7 separate regions of the Homo sapiens genome follow, and all the other regions are linked to region 6. Evidence: promoter capture Hi-C in human tissues and cell types (Jung and others, 2019). All regions are on one chromosome and are shown on one strand. The core of a region is centred on a gene start or on the middle of the fragment in contact, and the rest is flanking DNA. Distances in the headings are between cores, read along the strand shown.

Region 1 (2,700 bases), core at 58-2,557, 190 kb after region 6:
GCAGCTTTGTGGCACAAATGGACGACGTGTGCTTCTTAAGAAAGACCAGTTGAGTTCTTCCTGGCTATTGTATAATCCACAGCCACACTGTGAAAGCAAATCTGGCCAGTTAGCAACACAGGGAGAATCTGCCTGAACTGACCAAAGGTGTCCATACTTCATGTCAGTGAGAATTTCACCTCCATCATGTTCTAAAGAGCCAACAACAGATTCTAGGGCACTGCAAAATGCTTCAGCAATTAATTGAAGTTCTGTTTGAGTACATTCATCATCTTTGAGAATGCTTTCTGGGTCGTTGTGAGTCTAAAGAGTAATAAAAACATTGAAAACACATACAAAGCAATTAATATAAAATGTTTCAGAAAAATAAGATACTGAAATCAAAATCTTATTCCTAAAGTAATTACTTACTTTCATTTAATTTGGGGTCTGGCACAATGCTAACGGGCTTGTATGGGTCAGCCGGCCGGGTTGCAAACCCTTAACTAGGTTGGTTATAGTAAAAATGTATTAAAAATGTATATACTACCAGTCATGTTACCAGAATGAGTGAATCAGAATAACCCCACCATCAGCTTATTCTGAATGAGGCTTGGTAGTGCCTCCTTAATACATGAAGGACTAGGCATAATACATGTATTACAGGTTTTTCTGCACACAGGAGGAAGTTCCTGAAGACTGATGTCCCAAATGGAGTACTTATTTATCTCTGCAAAATGTTTGAGATTTGCTTAAAATGGGAATGCACATATTTTTATTTGGAAATCATGATGTAAATTTTCATATCAATGTTTTAAAAATGAATATTCTTCTCTTTAAATTAATGAAAAGGTAATAAGACCTTAAACAGTCTTCTGGTTCCACTATTTAAAAATGTTTATCCTAGAAATTCCATGATAAAAAGAAAAATTAATATATAGCCATGCACCACATACCAACACTTCAGTCAATGATAGACTGCATATACAACAGTGGTCCCATAAGATTATAAGGCCATATTTTTACTAACCTTTTCTGTGTGTTGATATGTTTAGATACATAAATACCATTGTGTTACAATTACCTACAGTATTCAGTACAGTAATATGCTGTAAGGGTTTGTAGCCTAGGAGCAATAGGCTATACCACATAGCTTAGGAGTGTGGTAGGCTCTACCATGTAGGTTTGTGCAAGTACACTCTATATTGTTTGCACAACAATATTGTCTAATGATGCATTTCTCAGAATATATCTTTGTTAAGCAACATGTCTGTATTAGCAAACTAATAACTGAATGATGGGTTAAAAAATCCATATCTTAACTGCTTAAAAACAGTGACTACTTTCCTACTCAAGACACCTCCTTCCTCTAAAAAACTTTCTCTAGTTTATCAATTCCATTTCAGAATACATTATTGTCCATTCAGCACCAATAGATTGGCACAAATTTTGTTTTCCATAATGTATATTCTGATAACTTTTCATGAATGTGCTTTATCTTCAAAGAGATTCTAAGTTATTTGGGGAAGGACAGGGCATGTTTACCCAATGAATCGATTGCTAATATCTGGAAAACACCTATACCTTTTTCTATCCATTTTCAAATAAAGTAGGCCAGTACTTATGAAATAATCAGAACAACAATGCACTAAACTTATCTGAGAGCTGTCAGGAAATGGAGTTTCCTAGACCAATCAAAAAATTCTATTTAGTATAATTAATAAATAACATACATAAATACCAATTTTAAAATTATAATAGAATCTAATATGTGAATTGCTTAAATAAATGAAACTTTTCTTGATGCTCTAGAAGATACTGAAGTATTCTGTAGAAACTTGGCCCTTTTGTTTGTGAACATCAATTATTACTGTATTGCAGCAGTTGAGATCTCTAAGAGAACTCCCAATAACAGAATGCTAGCTTCAACATGCAGAACATGTAGACAATACTCAAAGAACGTGATCGCTTGCTTAAATATTTTTATAATAATCATTGTAATAAGGATATTACCTTATATTTACCTTGTTATTTCCCTCAAGTGTTTTTGATTATCTACTTTATTTAGACTACTGAAAAATTCAGTGTTAAAGGCTACAAGTTTACCTGTATAACAAACCTATACATGCACCCCTGAACCTAAAAGTTAAAACTAACAAAAAGACTATAGGATATTATGATTTTGGCTTATTATCTCAGAAAACAAAAGTTGCTGAGAATTCAGGTAATCCGAAGAGGATTATCTTACATACCTTGTGTCTGATATATGCAGCCAAATGAGTTTCAGTACAGCCACCTCCCAACAAAGCCCATGGTTCCTTGAGTGTTAACTGCAGGACATGCAGTGCCGTCTGACACGTGAGCTAAGAAAAAACCCAAATCATCAGAATCAGACGTTCACATCATATTAACACACAAAAAATCATGCTCTCAAAGCATCATAGTGAATACAGAGAGTGTGATTTTAATTACAAAAGAACAAAACTTGTGTGGTGCCAAGGTTGTCATGTGATTAATACATTCTGAATAGTAAGGTTTAGAGATTAAGGGAAGATACTTCAGTCAGAAGTTTGTTTTCACGGAGCCAGATTAGTATTTTCTTTCATATACACTTAGCTCTTCAAACTGAGACGAATATATGGCCTCAAAATATCTGGGTCAACAAGGTTTGCTGACACTTCCACTAAAAAAATCATTTCAGTCTAAATAATAAATTTATTT
Region 2 (2,700 bases), core at 63-2,562, 240 kb before region 6:
AGGATATACAACAAGTAAGCTAGCTGGAATTAAAACTCAGATAGTCTGAAAAACTCACACAATCATTGCATCATCATTTTTAGAGGTAAAAATAGACATTAAAGTTTATATAACAAGCTATTAAAGATGCAACTGAATTTAAAACCAAGGTATTAATGATTTGTGGCCTGATGGTCTTCCTTGAGTTACATTCCATTTTTCTTCGGATAATTCCTGACTTGCCAAAAATTACATTCCCCTTGAATATAAGTGCCATCTAGACTGGTCTACACAGAGACTGTGGTAGGCTGGTATACCACAGATATTTCTCTGCACTTGACCACAGTGCTATCTGGAATTTCATGCCCACCCATCTCTGTAGGCTTCAGAATAGAGTCAGCCTGCTCTTGCAAGACTCTTCCCAGATACAAGTTCTCATCTGAGAAGTCTATAGTGGCCAGTTTAATGCTGACCTCAAGGAAGAAGGGGAAAGAGAGTGGTCTTCAGACTTTAAGATTCCAGACCTATCTTCACTTTGGCAAGAAAAAGGAAATTACTAGATGATTGCAAGTATAGGCAATATAGCATTCCTGAAAGCAGCTTGCCCAGTCTCCAATATTTTCCCAAGGATACGTAAGCATGATAGGACAGAAGTGTAGAAGTCTCAAATCTTAAGAAAATAAGATATTGCTCTCTTTAGCTAAAGCTTTGCTGAGCTTTCTTGGTTTACTCCTGTTCAAGCAGTTCTTACAGTTTCTATATAGGATGCTTATTGTATCAGTCAGCTTGTGCTGTGTTATGCTACAGTAACCAGACACCCCCTACCTCCAAATCTTAGTAGCTTACAACAAGAAACAGTTTTCTTTCTTTCTCATTTTACATGTCAATCACAGATTGACTTAGGCTCTTTATCTCAAGCCCATGCGGGCTGAATGAGCAGCCCCTACCTGGGACCTACCAGGCCCCTGGCTGTGAGAAGAAAATGATGTGAAACCACAGAGTGGTTCTTAGAGCTTTTGCTCAGAACTGGCTTCTGACATTTCTGACCACATTTCATTGGCCAAAGCAAGCCTGATGTCAATGGGGAAGGAAAGTTTAATCCTTTATAAGGATGGAGAGTCCCCTAATATTGGGAATGATAATACAATGATCAGACTTACTGAATTACATTATATTAGGCATAAGGAGGCTCCTATCTGAATAAATTAATAGGGTGAAAATACAAGCAAGCTGTAGAAGCTTCAACTAACTCTATAAAAGAAATATTCAAGGAGTCTAAGCATTGAAACTCTTTTCTACTTTTCTCAGCAGTGGCACAGTGAAAAAAATTAAAAGTCATTTCAGGGCATGGTAGTTGACTTGAGAGGGCAGGAAACATAGCCCAGGGAGCTGCTGAGCCCAGAGTGGAATTGCTCCTCCTTCAGCAGCTATAAAGCATGGGCCAGGTCGTACAGCTCCTTATTTAGTAACATTGGCAAAAATCCAGGCTTCATTTATAAGTCACTGCATTGCAGTTCTTTTGGAGTACGTTACCAGGACTTCATAAAGATTGATTGAGTTCTGGGAAGCCATTGGGTTGAAAGTCCAGATGTACATAAATCAAGTTATAGCATCATTTAATTCACAATGTATCTGCCCAAGTCATTTTGGGGTGGAAGTGAAAAGATTTATAGTAAGTCTTATGGGATTTGATGATCTGAAAAGTAAGAGATATTAAATGGGTGATTTAGCTGCAAGAGTTAACTGCAGTAGTTTAAAATTGACTCAAGTCTTCATTGCTACTGGTTTAAAATGCATCTTAAATAATTGGAAGTATATTTTGGGAGCTCTTTAGGGTGAAGAGTTAAACGTGATTTTTGGCAGTCAAAAATAAGATCTGATTTATATTCAGAAAAAACTCATCCATCAATAAAATATATGTCAGCAAACTACTTTATATCTTAAAGCACTGTTCTCTACCACACTTAGTTCAGATCTAAAAACTTTTACATAAATCTGTTCTATGATAAGAACCCAAAGTTCTTGAACTTGATAAAAAGAATTTCTGTGATCCTTTTAGTCTTGAGCCACAAATCAATCTACAATTGAAATCACACTTGCTTTTATGTGGAAGGACATGAAAAGCCACAATCCCAATTCATGCCCTCATGGTCTCTCACTAGCCAGGCACCTGGAGATCCAAATCTGTAGAGTAGGTGAAGTTTGCTATAATCTTCTCTGAGCCCAACTGTTCTGTATTGCTTTCTTTTTTTTGAATTCTTTTTTTTTTTTTTCAATGACAGCCTCCCTCTGTCTCCCAGGATAGAGTGCAGTGAGGACTCCAGTGATCTTCCCACCTCAGCCTCCGGAGTAGCTGGGACTACAAGCATGAGCCACCATGCCCGGCTTATTTTTTTATTTTTTATAGAGACCAGGATCTCACTATGTTTCCCAGGCTGGTCTCAAACTCCTGGAATCAAGTGATTCTCCAGCTTTGGCATCCCGAAGTGGTGGGACTACAGGCTCCTGACACCGGGCCTGGCCTTCAATTTCATGATGTTTCTTAATGCCTCAATTCCCCTTTCCTCTTTTCCTATCTTTTAATCTTTTCTATCTTTCCTTTCAAAATCTATTCTTTAAAAGAAGTTATTTTTAATTAAAATTTACCATCAGGTACCTTAAAGGCTGAGGAAATTTAATCTATTAGCATAGGCAATTGTATGCAAGTATCAGTAGAAAACA
Region 3 (2,700 bases), core at 73-2,572, 210 kb after region 6:
TTGACAAGAAAGTTTTTAAAACCTTGACTTTTAGAAAGGTTCATGATACTGAGAAGCAGACAGACTGGGAGATCCAATTTGTGAAACAAACTTAAGCTATTTACAGTTTGCCTTGAGATGGTCCTTCCCTCAAAACACTTGGCAAGTTGTTCCAAGAGGCATGGACTGTCTTGTAGAGATTCTGAGTCTAAAACAAAGATTTCTCAAGAATAAGCTCAAAATGATCAGATTTGATGAGCAGTAACTGGTTAATCCCTAAAATAAGTTAGTGTTTGATGCTCATTTATTGAACTTTTCAAGTTTGGAGCAAAGCAACAAGAGAAATGAGATTTTTTCCCTTCCTTACCCTCTAATGTACTTGCCACTGCCCTTTCTTTCTTTCCTGAATCTTCTTTAAACATATTTCTAAAAAAAGACTCCTTTAGAAGGATAGAGAAATCAAGAGACATGAAATGAGATTAGTAAATTTTAGATCAAGTAAAATAGAGTTGATATTTATAGTTTCATTTACTAAAATGTCTTTTGTTAAGTTTAGAAAAAGTTTAGAGGCAATCTTAATGTGGATTATGCTTTTCATATTCTTCTCTCAAAAGTATGGTCTTAAATTATTCAAAAGTTTCATATTTTTCATTTTGTTTTGCTTTCATAGCAACTTTATGAGATCATTTTATAAATGAAGAAACATTAAATGATTGATTCTAAGATTACTGTCAGTTAACTGTGGCATTCAATTTAGATGTGAAGTCTTTAAAGTCTTGCCTAGTACTCTACTAAGCAATTCTTCAAGTCAAGAATTAGTGCCCCAGCTTGGGCAGTACTGTCTATCAGGATTTCCAGTGTGTGATCACGGATGAGGGGAACATTTGGAGGGCGTGAGGCACACCCTTGAGGATCACTGAGGTCAACTAGCTTGGGGCATCATGCCTGGCATGTTGTTCTTTTTTCTTTTTTTGGGACAGTCTCACTCTGTTGCCCAAGGGGGAGCGTAGTGGTGTGATCTCGGCTCACCTCCGCATGCCAGATTTAAGGGATTCTCGTACCTCAGCCTCCCAGGTAGCTGAGATTACAGGCCCACGCCACCATGCCCGACTAATTTTTGTATTTTAGTAGAGACGGGGTTTCACCATGTTGCCCAGGCTGGTCTCAACTCCTGGCCTCAAGTGATATGTCCGCCTCAGCCTCCCAAAGTGCTGGGATTACAGGCATGAGCCATGCACGCCCCGTGGCATGTCCTTGGCTGATTTTCATGTCAGGTATATAAAAGGTTAACAGCTGTCATTTCACTTGTCCAAAATTAGAGGGCATCTTACAGTTCTGGAGGTAAGAAAAACAAAAAAATTAGAGGGCAAAAGAGTCTATATCCTCCAAAAACACATCCGTGACCTACTAATGGTTGAGATTAGCTGGGTTAGTTCAGTTTTCTTTAATTTAGTTCTCAGTATAGAATGACAGCAAGAGATTAATGAACAGAAGAGGGAGAACTTGCTATGCTTCTACCTCATTATAAATACTGTAATCTTTTAGAGTAGCTTAAAGGCCAAGAAAAGAAAACACTGACACACACACACACACACACACACACACACACACACACACACACACACACAAAGTAAGGTTAAGGGCAAAAAGGCAAGCAAGCTTCCTAGAACTTCCCAAACAGCTGGATCTAGCCATCAGATTATTCTATCTAGCATAGTATTAGTTAAAGCCATCAAGTTTTTTTAATTGCTTCCTGCAAAATTAGGCCTAAAATAACTTGGATGCAGGGAATGTTACATCAAATGTTCTCATTTTGCCTATTGGGCTTGCTGGGCGCCATCTGCTGGCCTTTTGGACACAGTGTAAAACGGATTCTTTTTGGTCTTAATTGCTGTTGTGATTTGAAAAAATTGTAATTTTTAAAAACTTCCACTGAATGTAATTTAATCATGAGAAGAACATTAGATAGAATATTAAAAACCAATTAACCCAGCTCTTGTGATAATGAAACTTTATGAAGTTTACTGGAATTGTACTATGCCTTTTCTTTTACAATGACAATGTTGGCTTTAGGTATTTGTGAATTCTTCATTTCTGAATTCTCATCATCAACATTCAAAAGTTATTTTTTATCCTCAATTTTTAATACAGCAGTTTGAATTGTGGCATTTTTTCTGTGTACACAATAGAAAAGACTGCACGTGGTCTTCAACTGTGCTATGAAATGAACTGACATGGTAAACAGAACAATCGTTTTCCTTTTTCTTTTCCAACTATATCACCTAAAATAACACTCATTTTGCTGGACTTCTCCAGTCTTGTAAAAACACACACCCCAAAAACAATACTGTAATTCTTAATGAACCCATGGATCATAATTGAGTTCTAAAGTTTCCATTCTGCAAATCCTACCACCTTCCCCACCAAACCATTCAAGGTCAGCTTGACCTATATCCAAGAGCTGGGCTGCTAACAGCGTAACTGAGTCAGGAGTGGATCTGCAGTCAGAAGGCCGAAACAGGTATGCGTAAGTATCTTATGTCTTTTGCTATTCCTCCCTGCTCATTGCTGTGAATTTAATGTATTTGTAAATAAAAAATATACTGAAAGCATCATAAGTCTTATATGGGGGTTTCACTAATTGTAGGCAGTCTCAAATATTAAGCAAGTGATTAACAACTAATGAGAAGTGAAAACTAGCTTACCAGCAAGCTGTGGTTT
Region 4 (2,700 bases), core at 171-2,670, 220 kb before region 6:
CATGTATGGAGCTGTCATTTTCTATGGTAACTATGCCTACTTCTGGATACTTCCTGAAGGACTTGCCTGAAGATGTTTTACAATGGACTTTTTGTTTAATACGTAGAAGGAGCATACCCTAAAGTAACAACAAAAACTCTAGTATAGTAAATACATAAATCAGTAACATATTTATTATTATTATACATTATTATGTACTGCACACAATTGTATGTGCTATGCTTCCATATGACCGACAGCACAGTAGCTTTGTTTACACCAGCATCACCACAAACAACACAAGTAATGCATTGTGCTGTGATGATGTGATGGTTACGATTTCACTAGACGATAGGAATTTTTAAGCTTCATTTTGATCTTATGGGACCACCATCATATATGTGGTTGTTGACTAAAACATTGTTATGCACTTTTGAAATTACATAACTGTAATTTGTCTAGACTACAGTCCCTATATATTCTAGTTTTTTTCTACTGTTTACTTATTTAATTTACTTTGTCTTTAGCTAGTAGTCAGTTGTCATTAAGAATAAAGCAAAAATTTTCATTTATAAACGGCTAATGGCATTCCTACATTAATTCTTGTCCTTAGAGACCATCGACTGAAATAGATTATAATAAATATGATCAATTAGCTAATCATTTAATGAATCATTCGGGACACAATAATTGTTTCAAAATTTCCATTGCATACCACCACCTAATAGATATTGACCACAAAAGAAATATCTCAGGGGAGGGGGGAGAGATAGCATTAGGGGATATACCTAATGCTAAATGACAAGTTAATGGGTGCAGCACACCAGCATGGCACATGTATACATATGTAACTAACCTGCACATTGTGCACATGTACCCTAAAACTTAAAGTATAATAATAATAATCATTAAAAAAGAATGAATTAAAAAAAAGAAATATCTCATTGAATCAAGTAATTTTTTCCTCATTTTTATTATACGTGATAATTATCTCAATAAATATCTCAAGACTTACTAAAATTCAATAAAGTAGCCCTGTTAAAATACTTAGGATTGCTAAAATTCTCCATTTCATTTTATGTGTGAATGGTTTGCTGAAAAGAAAAGAAATAAATGATTGAGACATATATCCTGGATTTATTTTTCATCTTGGATTTTGATCTTTAGCAATTTTATTTAATAACATCTCTGTGAAAACCCATGATTTCATGTCATTGGTAGTTTTGACAAGTTCAAAAGAGCCAATCACAGATTTATTTTATAACAAGATTTAGGCTGGGCGCAATGGCTCATGCCGGTAATCCCAGCACTTTGGGAGGCTGAGGCAGGCAGATCATTTGAGGTCAGGAGTTCAAGACCACCCTGGCCCACATGATGAAATCCCGTCTCTACTAGAAATACAAAAATTAGCTGGGTGTGGTGGCACGTGCCTGTAGTCCCAGCTACTCGGGAGGCTGAGGCAGGAAGATCACTTGAACCCAGGAGGTGGTGGTTGCAGTGAGCTGAGATCACACACCACTGCGCTCCAGCCTGGGTGACAGAGCGAGACTCTGTCTCAAAACAACAACAACAAAAAAAAAAAAAAAAAAAAAACAAGACTATGTTTCTGAAGTAAGCCTGCCAAATTTAGGCAATGTATTTGGAAAGACTTTTTAGTTCTAGGTGTTATATTCTTTACAGCTAGATTCATTTAACTGGAGAGTACTTACAGTATGATCGAGAAAAATAATACAAACATAAATGCTGTGGAATCATGGAACTGTGTTTATATATCACAGATCTCAGAGATATAAATTAATCATTCAATGAGAAATACCATCCCTGAAAATGAACATGACTATAATAAAATCAATGAGCAGCTATATATAAAATCCATCTTTCTTAAACGTATTAGTGTTTTATAAACACTAATATAAAATACAAATGTGAATAAATATAAATTTTCTCCAACAATTTTGTCTTTAGTTTGAAAAGTATAGTCTTTTGCAAAGTTCATAAATTGGTATGTAAACATTTTCAGTTATCCTAGGGTGGAGATCATCTTGAAACTTCAAAGTGAACATATTGACATAGGTCACAGAACAACACATTAATAAGAGCCCCCAAATGAATTGCCACACAGCAGACTTCATTCCATCTTTTTTACATGATGAAATAGTCTTCCTGTTAATGAAAAATGCTCCAGGCCCTGAGAAGGCCTGGGCTGCATGAGTCAAGGAGAGGGTAGCATGAAGACAAAAGGATTCTAATTCCAAGTAGTAGCATATGGAGAGCCCGCTGCCAAAGGGTTTCAGTTCCTCAATCATCTGTGGTCTTGACAATGTGACTGTGCAACTAACTCCTCCCTGCAGAGGATGGTGGCATCTGTTTCTCCACCTTTTGAATCTGGGCTGGCCTTTGGACTTGGCAAGGCCAATAGAGATTTGAGCCTGGGTCTCAAGGGACCTGGCACTTCTGCTCCCTTTCTGTTGGAGTCCTGCCAGCATCTTGGGAACAAGTTCCAGAAGATAGCTAGAGGATGGGAGCACATGAAGAGCAGATCACAACCATCCCTGGGGAGCCCAGCCTGGACCAGCTACAGCCACCCGTCTCCCAAACATGGAGAGAGACCCCCGAGTTTAGCAGAGCTGCATACCTGACCCACAGTGAACCACATATGCATGAGGGAGTCCAGGTGAGATCACAGGAACATCCAGCTGGCCCATAAGCTTATAAGCAGTA
Region 5 (2,700 bases), core at 67-2,566, 180 kb before region 6:
GATAATTACATATTTAATTGTACCACGTAAGAAAATAAACTTCAGATGCATTCAGGGGCCAGATGTACTTTGAAATGCTAAATCCTGAAAAAACGGTATCCTCTCAAAGCTCTATAGTATACCATTTCCCAAAGTGTGTTCCATGGACCACTGAATTGCCAGGATGTTGAGAAGTACTACAGGCAAAATTGGTTCCACGGTCGCATTCATTAGAGACACATTTTAGGCATTTATCTTTCACATTGTTGGCTCAAAAATGGTGACATTTTCCATATTTATTTGACCACAAAATAATTTTTTTTAATGACATCTTATATGCCTGGAGTTTTGTGGACTAACCTTTGGGAAACACTATAATAGAGAAACGTTTAACTTACTGAGTTTGAAACAGATACAAATCACAAAGAAAAAAGAAATTCTATAGTGTAACAATGTAAAAGTGTAAATTTTTTTTAAAAAATCAAGGTAAAATTGGAAACAAGGTCAAGTAAATACTTGCAGCAAATGCAACAGGCATATGGCTAAAGGAAACAAATCTCATGGGCAGAACTGAAACTATAAAAGGAAACAAATGTAAAATCTTGTTTCACACATAAGCTTGTTAGGATGGCTGCCTGCAGCCCTCACTCTGCATAACCCAAGGTAGTGCCCATTGTACAGAGTACATTGTCTCTTCCCACATCAACAAGGCTCACTCAGCTTGCACATCCCTCAGTTTGGCTGCCAGTGGCCAAAGTGCTTTGCTTATTCCACAGTACCCTCTCTGTCATTGACATCCTATTTTCTGGTGACTCATGTTTGACTCACTGTACATCGTTCCTAAAGGATAAGCAAACATTTAAATGGCTAAGTGGGTCTTTAGGATGTGAGACATGCCCTAGGCCTAAGCGGCACTTTCTCTTGGAACAGTTTTACAGAATATGGAGAAGGTAAAGCTCTAAGCCAATACATTCTTTCTTGTATGTTGTCCTAGGGAATTAATTACAATGTGGAATCATTCTCCTTAAAAGTTAAGCTATAATAGTTCCTTATAGCACCCATTCCCATTCCATTGGTTTTTGCATTTACAGGCATGTGTACTCAGTCCTCAATGCCGTATGCCAGTTCTATGATAAGGTACAATATTTTTCAAACTGTTTTCCCTTCAATTTAGGAATGCTGATTCGTGTTCTTTGTGGCTTAAGGAGTCAGCCCAGATACACTTTAACTGTGTGTTGCACATGCCATCATTATGAAATATTCATTTCATAAGTGGCTCTGGGCCTTTTGTAATGAATTCAGCCTCCTCGGGTATTATGCTTAGGTTGTTTTGCTGTTGCTGTTGTTGTTTTGCTCTGTTCCTGCCTTCTATGTCTTGCTCTTTCTTTGACTTTCTCTTTTCAATAATAACCTTGACAATCTTTTCTTTTTTTTTTTAACTGTTCTGAGTAACCCTACTTTAGGTACATCAGTTTATATAAAATATATTTAGGTTTTGATTTTCATATACATTTTATTTTTTATTTTAATGGTGGAATTTATCCAATTTATAGTTATCTAGATTTCCCATAGGGTTGGTTTCAGAAACATCATTTATTTTATATTGTGAAGGCAAAATATATCTAATATATAAAATACATGTGAAAGTATTGTCATATATGGTCCATAGATTTGTTTTACTTTGCTGTATATGTGTGTTTTTCTTTATATGCTTGTAAGTGTATTTTCTAAAATTGATGGGCTTTTTAGTTATTTTAGTTTTTTTATTTTTTTTTAGTTATTTTAATGGTTAACTTGATACTTCATATGCCCTTAAACCTGTTTATTGAGTTAGCATCTTAAACAGTATTCATTGATTCTTTACTCTGTTTAGTAAGATTAGTACAATAGTATAAATTAGATAAGATTAGTACAATAACCCTTCCTCTTACCTCTGCTACTTCCCTTCTACCACTCAATTTTATACTCAATTATAATTACTTAGTTCTTTCAATGATTCCCTTTTAAATAATAAGTACCTTGTACTTTATTTCCTTACCTGCTTTACATAATATCTCAGTCTTAGCCCTAAAAGATGAGAAGATCAAATACTTATACTATTTCTCCTTCCTTCCCTCAAATTTTTGATAAATTATATTATTTTTACATTATTACAAATTGCAATATATTTTTCTCTATCTAAAATTGCTAAGGTGACTTAGCTTTGGTTCTGTGGCTAAAGAGATTCAGTATTTATGACTGTTCTTTTAGTCACATATTCTCTATTGATCTCTTGGAAAACTCACTTTTGCCATCAAGTAGTTTAAGTCACTTCTTTGGGCTTGTATCCCTGATTACTTATATCCTTAAGACTATACATGTCTGTTGTTTTTACATGAACAAAGTCTTGATTGGGTATAAAAGTTTCCTGTTTTTTTTCCCCAAGTTATAGTGTAGAGATCCTTTGATTATACTGTAGCATTGAATGTTGTTGTGATAAATTTTTGAGGGCAGCTGGACTTTTCCCCTTCATGGATTAGTTGAATTTTTGCCTGGATTCTTATGAGACACTTTCTTTGCCTAGCTTTACCTAGGCATGCCTTGTTGACTGTTCTTAATCAACTTTTCCTAAGACCCAACGTACCCTTTTAATCTTAAGATTCAGGTCTATCTTTGCACTTTCATTTTAGAACAAGTTATATTTAGTTTCTTTGCTATCATGGAAATGAATTAGCCAGTAAT
Region 6 (2,700 bases), core at 47-2,546:
TTCCTCAGACGAGGTCCCCCACCTCCCACGCGCTCCCCAGCCCTCCCTCCCTGCGGAGAGCCCCGCGACAGCCTCCCCAACACCTGTGAATCATCCGGGAGGCTGCCACCGCCGAGCGATCCGCGCACCACCCCCTTCCCGGGCCCGGGCACGGCCAGGGAGGACAGTTAGGGTTGTTGCTTTATAATTATCACTTTTAATCTCTAATACGACCAGCACAAGTAGCCTTTGTCTCCCCGCCCTGATTTGAGCATCCGAGGGCCCCCCGAGGCAGCCTGCACGGGTACCCCGGGGTTTGCGCACTGAGTGAACCCCCAGATTCGGCCGTGTCCCAGCCGTCCTTGCTCTGAATCCCCCACCTCCTCCCGGCCGTTTGGACGGTTCCCTCGGGGCGTCTGTGCCTCCGTGGGGTACCCCTAAGACACCCAGCATGAAACCCCAGCACCGACTGCAAATTCCACCGAAAGCAGAGTCATCCGTTTTTGCCCTCGGCAAACAACTCAACTTCAAGCCTCGAGTCCTTGCAAACCCACGCTGGCTGGGCTAACTCCGCTTCCCTTCTCCTTCCCCCGACTCCTGCAACAGCTCAGAGAGCCTGGCTCTGACGTAGTTCAAAATAACGTGCGCCAGCCTCGCTGCCCGGCTGACCACAGCAACGAGAGCCACAAGCCCTCGACGCTGCTTCGATAACATGAAGCAATCACTCATAAAAATAGCAACCCACGTAGCCTGGCCATATATGGAGCTGGCGAGGGTGGACGGGGATGCCCCTACGGACCCTCTTCGGAGAAAACAAATCGCCGCTGAAATTTCCCCCACCCCTCCCATCACTACCTTTTACCCCTCCTCTGCCTTCCCCTCTCCTTAGATGACTCAACCACAGATTCCACTGAAAGGGGGTGGGGGTGGGGGTGGGGGGGAATATATACACATACACACAAATTATACATATATTATACATGTATTATAAAATATACACACACATACATATATACATACACACACATATACACATATGTACACACACACGCACACACACCAAAGAACATCAGGAATGCAGTTGCGGGATGAACGCGTTTGCCCAAGACCGAGTGTTAAAATGGAGTCATAAGAGTCGCCCCGTGCGGGTGTTTATAGAAGGTGAAAACACGCAGGTTTGCAGGCCAGCGCACTGGGAACCGAGTCAAGCGCGCCGCAGCCCGGGCCCCGCCCCCGCCCCCGCCGTGCCCCGCCCCCACTTCCTCCCGCCCCTCGCTGGGCGGCTATTAAAAGCTGCTGACGTCAAAACGGACGGCCATCTTTGATGAGGGCAGAGCTCACGTTGCATTGAAGACGAAACCTCGGGGAGGTCAGGCGCTGTCTTTCCTTCCCTCCCTGCTCGGCGGCTCCACCACAGTTGCAACCTGCAGAGGCCCGGAGAACACAACCCTCCCGAGAAGCCCAGGTAAGAACCCCCCTCCCCAGGTCGTGGCTCTGGCTCGGGATGGCTGCATACCCAGAAGGGACAGCAGCTGGGCAGTCCGAGTGGGCTTGGGTAAATACAAGTATTGGTGCACTTAGGGTGCGGTATTCCGTGTGTGCACGTCTGGTGGGGGCTTTATAAAGTGTTTTCGAGGTGAGCTGCTGGGGAAAAGGGAAACGGGAGCCCTGCAAATGGAGCGACGGGGAGGAAGAGCGAGGGTACGTACCGAATAATAACTTACTCTTTTGAAACAGTAGTGGGACCCCCTCTTTCTTCCATTTTGCGATGCAGTTTTCAGAGATATTTAGGCTGTTGAGTTTTCCTCCCCTGTCGTTCTAACCCTATTATTATGACTGTTGTCGTTAGGGTGCTATTATCCAGGGAAGAATTAAGGGGGAGACAGGGTGTGGGTGCTGGGGAGGCGAAAGGAGAAAGGGGGAGTTCCCGCCCCGGGCAAGCTGAGCTGCTGCAGCGACAGCAGCCTCCATGCCCCGCGGACTTGATTTATGCCGCCTGCTCCACGTCAACTGCAGGCTGGCGGGAGGCGGGCGGGTCGTGCCGGGTGGGAGGGCTCTGCGGAGGGCTGGCGCGGGTGGGCTGGCTTCGGGGACTGCGGCGGCCCGCGCTCAGCACCCTGGATAGCAACACCGAGGGCTCGCGCGGGCGCCCTCGACCTTTCAGCACCGGGGACAGCGGTCCGGCCGCAGCGCCTCATCTGCCTGCGGCAGAAATGCCTGGCCGGGGCTGGATGTGCCAGGGCTGGAGACCAAATTGTCTCCCTGAGACCCCGGTCTTACGGAGACCCTTAATAGAGGAGTCATAGTAGCTTAAAAGAAAACAAGAAAGAAATAAATCTTCCTCACAGAGACTCCTTTGCAGACAATTTCCTGTTCCCCTCCTCACCTCCTGCATAGCTTCAACAAAATAGTCTACTTGTGGAAATCTTCTGTGTTGCCCTCTGACCCTTATTTTACGTAGAAAATAAATACATTTTTTAAAAAATATGGATTTATCCTCCAGCAGGGTATCAAGGTTTTTGTTTGGTTTTGTTTTTTAACACAGAGTAGATCTGTCTACAGATCTTGGGTGAGCATAAGTACTGTATATATGAAGAAGCCAATGCTATCTGTTTATAGGGATGATACATCTCTCTCTATGTTTCCATTTGATAAAAATGTGAGATTAGCTGAACTAAGCAGAATCAACTTTAAGAATGAATCACTCTTCCTTTTCCTTCT
Region 7 (2,700 bases), core at 198-2,697, 130 kb before region 6:
GGAGGGAAACACATTAACATTCTAGCACCACCACCACTGTCATGTAGGTAATGTACTAGATTACTCAGCCGGGTGTGGGAATGTTCCCATTCCTCACTCTTCCCCATACCCATGTCCTTGCCCAAGAACTCTCCAGTTCCTTCCTCTAGAAAGTGTGCTTTGTCCCATGTGGCTTGCTTTGGCCAGTGACGTATGGGAAAGAGTGAGGATGTACTGTTCTGACCCTACACCCAAAGAAGTGCTATCCCTTTCTGCTCACTCCTCTTGGTTTCTGCCACACCATTCTTCTATTCTAGAAGAATGTGAGACATATGGAACAGAGGCACCCTGGCCAATCAGCAACTCTGTGAGTGTGATCATCAATGCTTATCATTAAACGCCACTGAGATTTGGGGTGGTTTGTTGCGCAGTATGGCTGAGGTAACAGTTGACTAATACACTGGTTATTCAGCTAAGACAGAGAGACGCTCTGAGTGTCTTAACCATAGCAAGTAAAGTTTCCTGTAAGACAAGGCAGAATTTGTAGCCTTCATTGTAGCCATTCCCTGGCCCTTTTTCCTTGCTTTGTATAATTATAGAATCTAAGGAGTGAAATACTCAAGTTCCAGAATTTTTTACAGCTAGGGTGGCCATATGATGCATTTGTAGCCAGTGATACATGTTTTTTTTTTTTTTTTTTTTTTTGCAGGGGACTCCTGGAAATACTTTTGCCGTCATGAAAAAAGCAGACTTTTGTTACTGCTCTTCTCCCTTCTTCCTGCCTTGAAGGCAGTCATGATTCCTGAAACTAATGCAGCCAAGGTGCAGCCAGGAGGGGAGCAGTGTGAGGTTGAAAAATCAACAGCTTAAGGAGGGCAGAGTAGGAAGATGGAAAAGGCATGAGTCTTTGATGATGTTGCTGAGTTAGCTAAACCCCAGTAACAAATGCCTCAGTCTTCTTTTTCTTAGAGCTAAAATTAGTGTCCATTTTGTTTAAGCCCCTATTAGATGGGTGATATCTAATGTGATATCTAAAATTAAATGAATTTCTAACTGATATGCCTAATTTACAGTTTGGCTTGGAACTGGCTTAGTCTGTTTGCATCAGAAAGATGGCATAGTTTCCCCCATTGGGTATTAGAGAAACTAAAATAGAAAGAAACTGAAAGTTTTATGGCCTACTGAGGTCAGAAGGAGGGGAGAGCAGGGAAGCAGCAGTCTCAACCTTTAACAGCAAATCGAAGTCCCCTAGGAATTGAGATGGGGAAGACTTGGAACACCTCTCTTCTCTGTGTCTTGTCCTGTTTACCTATTAAAACCCAACCCATCCATTCCTAGCCTCTTCCATGAAGCTTTCTCAAAATCCAGCCAGAGTGAACCACAGCTTTCTCTGAATATCTAGAGTTGTTTATTGGTTTTGATCTATGTGTGCCCCTCAATTGACACATCACACTTGTCCCTGCATGAGTCCAGCTGTGTAATGTGTCTTATCTTCCCTACAAAGATAACATCTTAATCTCTGCAGAATCTCCTGCAGAACCTAGTAAATACGCAGCATACATCAAGTCTTTAGTAACCAGTAATAACAATTAATTACATAAAATGAATATAAACTTGCTTTATAACAAGCCTATCATCACACCTCTGCTTATGGGTGTATCTGGAAACTTAATTAGGAGTTGGTAGCAAAAACAGTCAGCTATTTCTCTTCTATTGCAGAGGAAATAGATTAGGAGAGAAATGAGAGAGGACAACAGAGAGGAGAAACAAAGAACAGTTCAAAGTCACCTCCAAAGAGACCAGAGTCTCTGTATAATTTATTCCCTCTTGGGAGCATTCCTATCAGTAGTTCTGATGAAAAGAGAGTTAGCAATCTGGCACCGTTTTGCATATTTACACTGTTCCTTAAAATATATGTTGAATCATTTAGACTTTTTAGCTTCCACTTTAGTAAAAAAAAAAAAAAAAAAAAAAAAAGAGGGAAAGTCTAAGCTGGAGAGTGCTAGAACTCATAATTAAGAAGGAGGGGAGTCTTACACTGGTCCCCCAGAAGCAGACACTGAAACAAGGGTTTGAGTCCAGATGGTTTATTTGTGAGGTGACCCCAGGAACCATTGTAGGAAAATGTGGAAATGAGACAGTGAAGGAAAGGAAGCTAACACAGGTGCATTAATGAGTGGGTAATTGGAAATCAGTCCCCACGGAAAGCTCTATGTAGAACACAGCTCCAAATTGTTCCCCATGTGTGATGAGGAGCTGGGATATTTATCTACTAACTCCCATTTGCACTTGGGCCCATTGGGCACTCCTAGACTGCCCCACGCATAACTGATCATGCTCCTGCAGCCAAAGAAAGTCCTTAAGCAGAGAATCCAAGGTGCTTGCAGTAAGAAACCATTGGCATGTGCAGGAATACTGAGTATTGATGATATGTAAATAGGGCATCAATCGTGTCTGCTATATGGGGAAAAGTAAAGGGTAGCAGAGTAGGGGCTGGGGGATGAGAAAGCAAGGAATGAGGAGCACTCACTTGGGGAGGACTGCCAACTGTGTAGCCAGGTCTCAATGAACAAAAGTAGGCATTCTGTTGAAACTGCTGGGGAAGTCTATAATATAATACCTCTACCATTTATCTTAATTGTCTTTAGATATAGAATGCCTTCAAAATCATAAGGGCCAAAACTTATATTTATCAACCTTCCTGTCCCGTATTGAGGGAAT

The links. Contacts are between HindIII fragments. The study calls those that stand out against the background at their distance.
Region 1: a fragment that was not itself captured here is called in contact with the fragment with the promoter of SNAP25 in region 6 in 1 of the 25 tissues and cell types used here (dorsolateral prefrontal cortex).
Region 2: a fragment that was not itself captured here is called in contact with the fragment with the promoter of SNAP25 in region 6 in 4 of the 25 tissues and cell types used here (aorta, dorsolateral prefrontal cortex, hippocampus and 1 more).
Region 3: a fragment that was not itself captured here is called in contact with the fragment with the promoter of SNAP25 in region 6 in 1 of the 25 tissues and cell types used here (hippocampus).
Region 4: a contact is called between a fragment that was not itself captured here and the fragment with the promoter of SNAP25 in region 6, in 1 of the 25 tissues and cell types used here (hippocampus).
Region 5: a fragment that was not itself captured here is called in contact with the fragment with the promoter of SNAP25 in region 6 in 1 of the 25 tissues and cell types used here (dorsolateral prefrontal cortex).
Region 7: a contact is called between a fragment that was not itself captured here and the fragment with the promoter of SNAP25 in region 6, in 1 of the 25 tissues and cell types used here (dorsolateral prefrontal cortex).

Annotation. Positions count from the first base shown.
Region 1 is chr20:10,405,385-10,408,084 of GRCh38, forward strand. It overlaps MKKS (MKKS centrosomal shuttling protein), which reads right to left. Exons shown (of 6, transcript NM_170784.3): 5 at 2,232-2,342; 6 at 1-303. Among named protein-coding and RNA genes, the nearest start is that of MKKS, 27 kb to the right of the region's middle. The HindIII fragment of the contact is 5,196 bases long and covers 1-2,700 here.
Region 2 is chr20:9,980,522-9,983,221 of GRCh38, forward strand. No RefSeq gene overlaps it. Among named protein-coding and RNA genes, the nearest start is that of PARAL1, 4.5 kb to the right of the region's middle. The HindIII fragment of the contact is 5,770 bases long and covers 1-2,700 here.
Region 3 is chr20:10,425,474-10,428,173 of GRCh38, forward strand. All of the region lies in intron 1 of MKKS (MKKS centrosomal shuttling protein), which reads right to left. All of the region lies in intron 1 of LOC128706665, which reads right to left. The region is part of intron 1 of LOC128706666; the gene reads right to left. Among named protein-coding and RNA genes, the nearest start is that of MKKS, 7.4 kb to the right of the region's middle. The HindIII fragment of the contact is 7,518 bases long and covers 1-2,700 here.
Region 4 is chr20:9,997,530-10,000,229 of GRCh38, forward strand. All of the region lies in intron 1 of PARAL1 (PPARG activating RBM14 associated lncRNA 1), which reads left to right. Among named protein-coding and RNA genes, the nearest start is that of PARAL1, 13 kb to the left of the region's middle. The HindIII fragment of the contact is 3,336 bases long and covers 1-2,700 here.
Region 5 is chr20:10,039,555-10,042,254 of GRCh38, forward strand. All of the region lies in intron 3 of ANKEF1 (ankyrin repeat and EF-hand domain containing 1), which reads left to right. The region is part of intron 3 of SNAP25-AS1 (SNAP25 antisense RNA 1); the gene reads right to left. Among named protein-coding and RNA genes, the nearest start is that of ANKEF1, 5.9 kb to the left of the region's middle. The HindIII fragment of the contact is 3,991 bases long and covers 1-2,700 here.
Region 6 is chr20:10,217,534-10,220,233 of GRCh38, forward strand. It overlaps SNAP25 (synaptosome associated protein 25), which reads left to right and starts at 1,297. Exons shown (of 8, transcript NM_130811.4): 1 at 1,297-1,444. SNAP25-AS1 (SNAP25 antisense RNA 1) reads right to left here and starts at 1,973. Exons shown (of 5, transcript NR_040710.1): 1 at 1,704-1,973. The HindIII fragment of the contact is 5,357 bases long and covers 1-2,700 here.
Region 7 is chr20:10,084,471-10,087,170 of GRCh38, forward strand. All of the region lies in intron 3 of SNAP25-AS1 (SNAP25 antisense RNA 1), which reads right to left. Among named protein-coding and RNA genes, the nearest start is that of ANKEF1, 51 kb to the left of the region's middle. The HindIII fragment of the contact is 3,434 bases long and covers 1-2,700 here.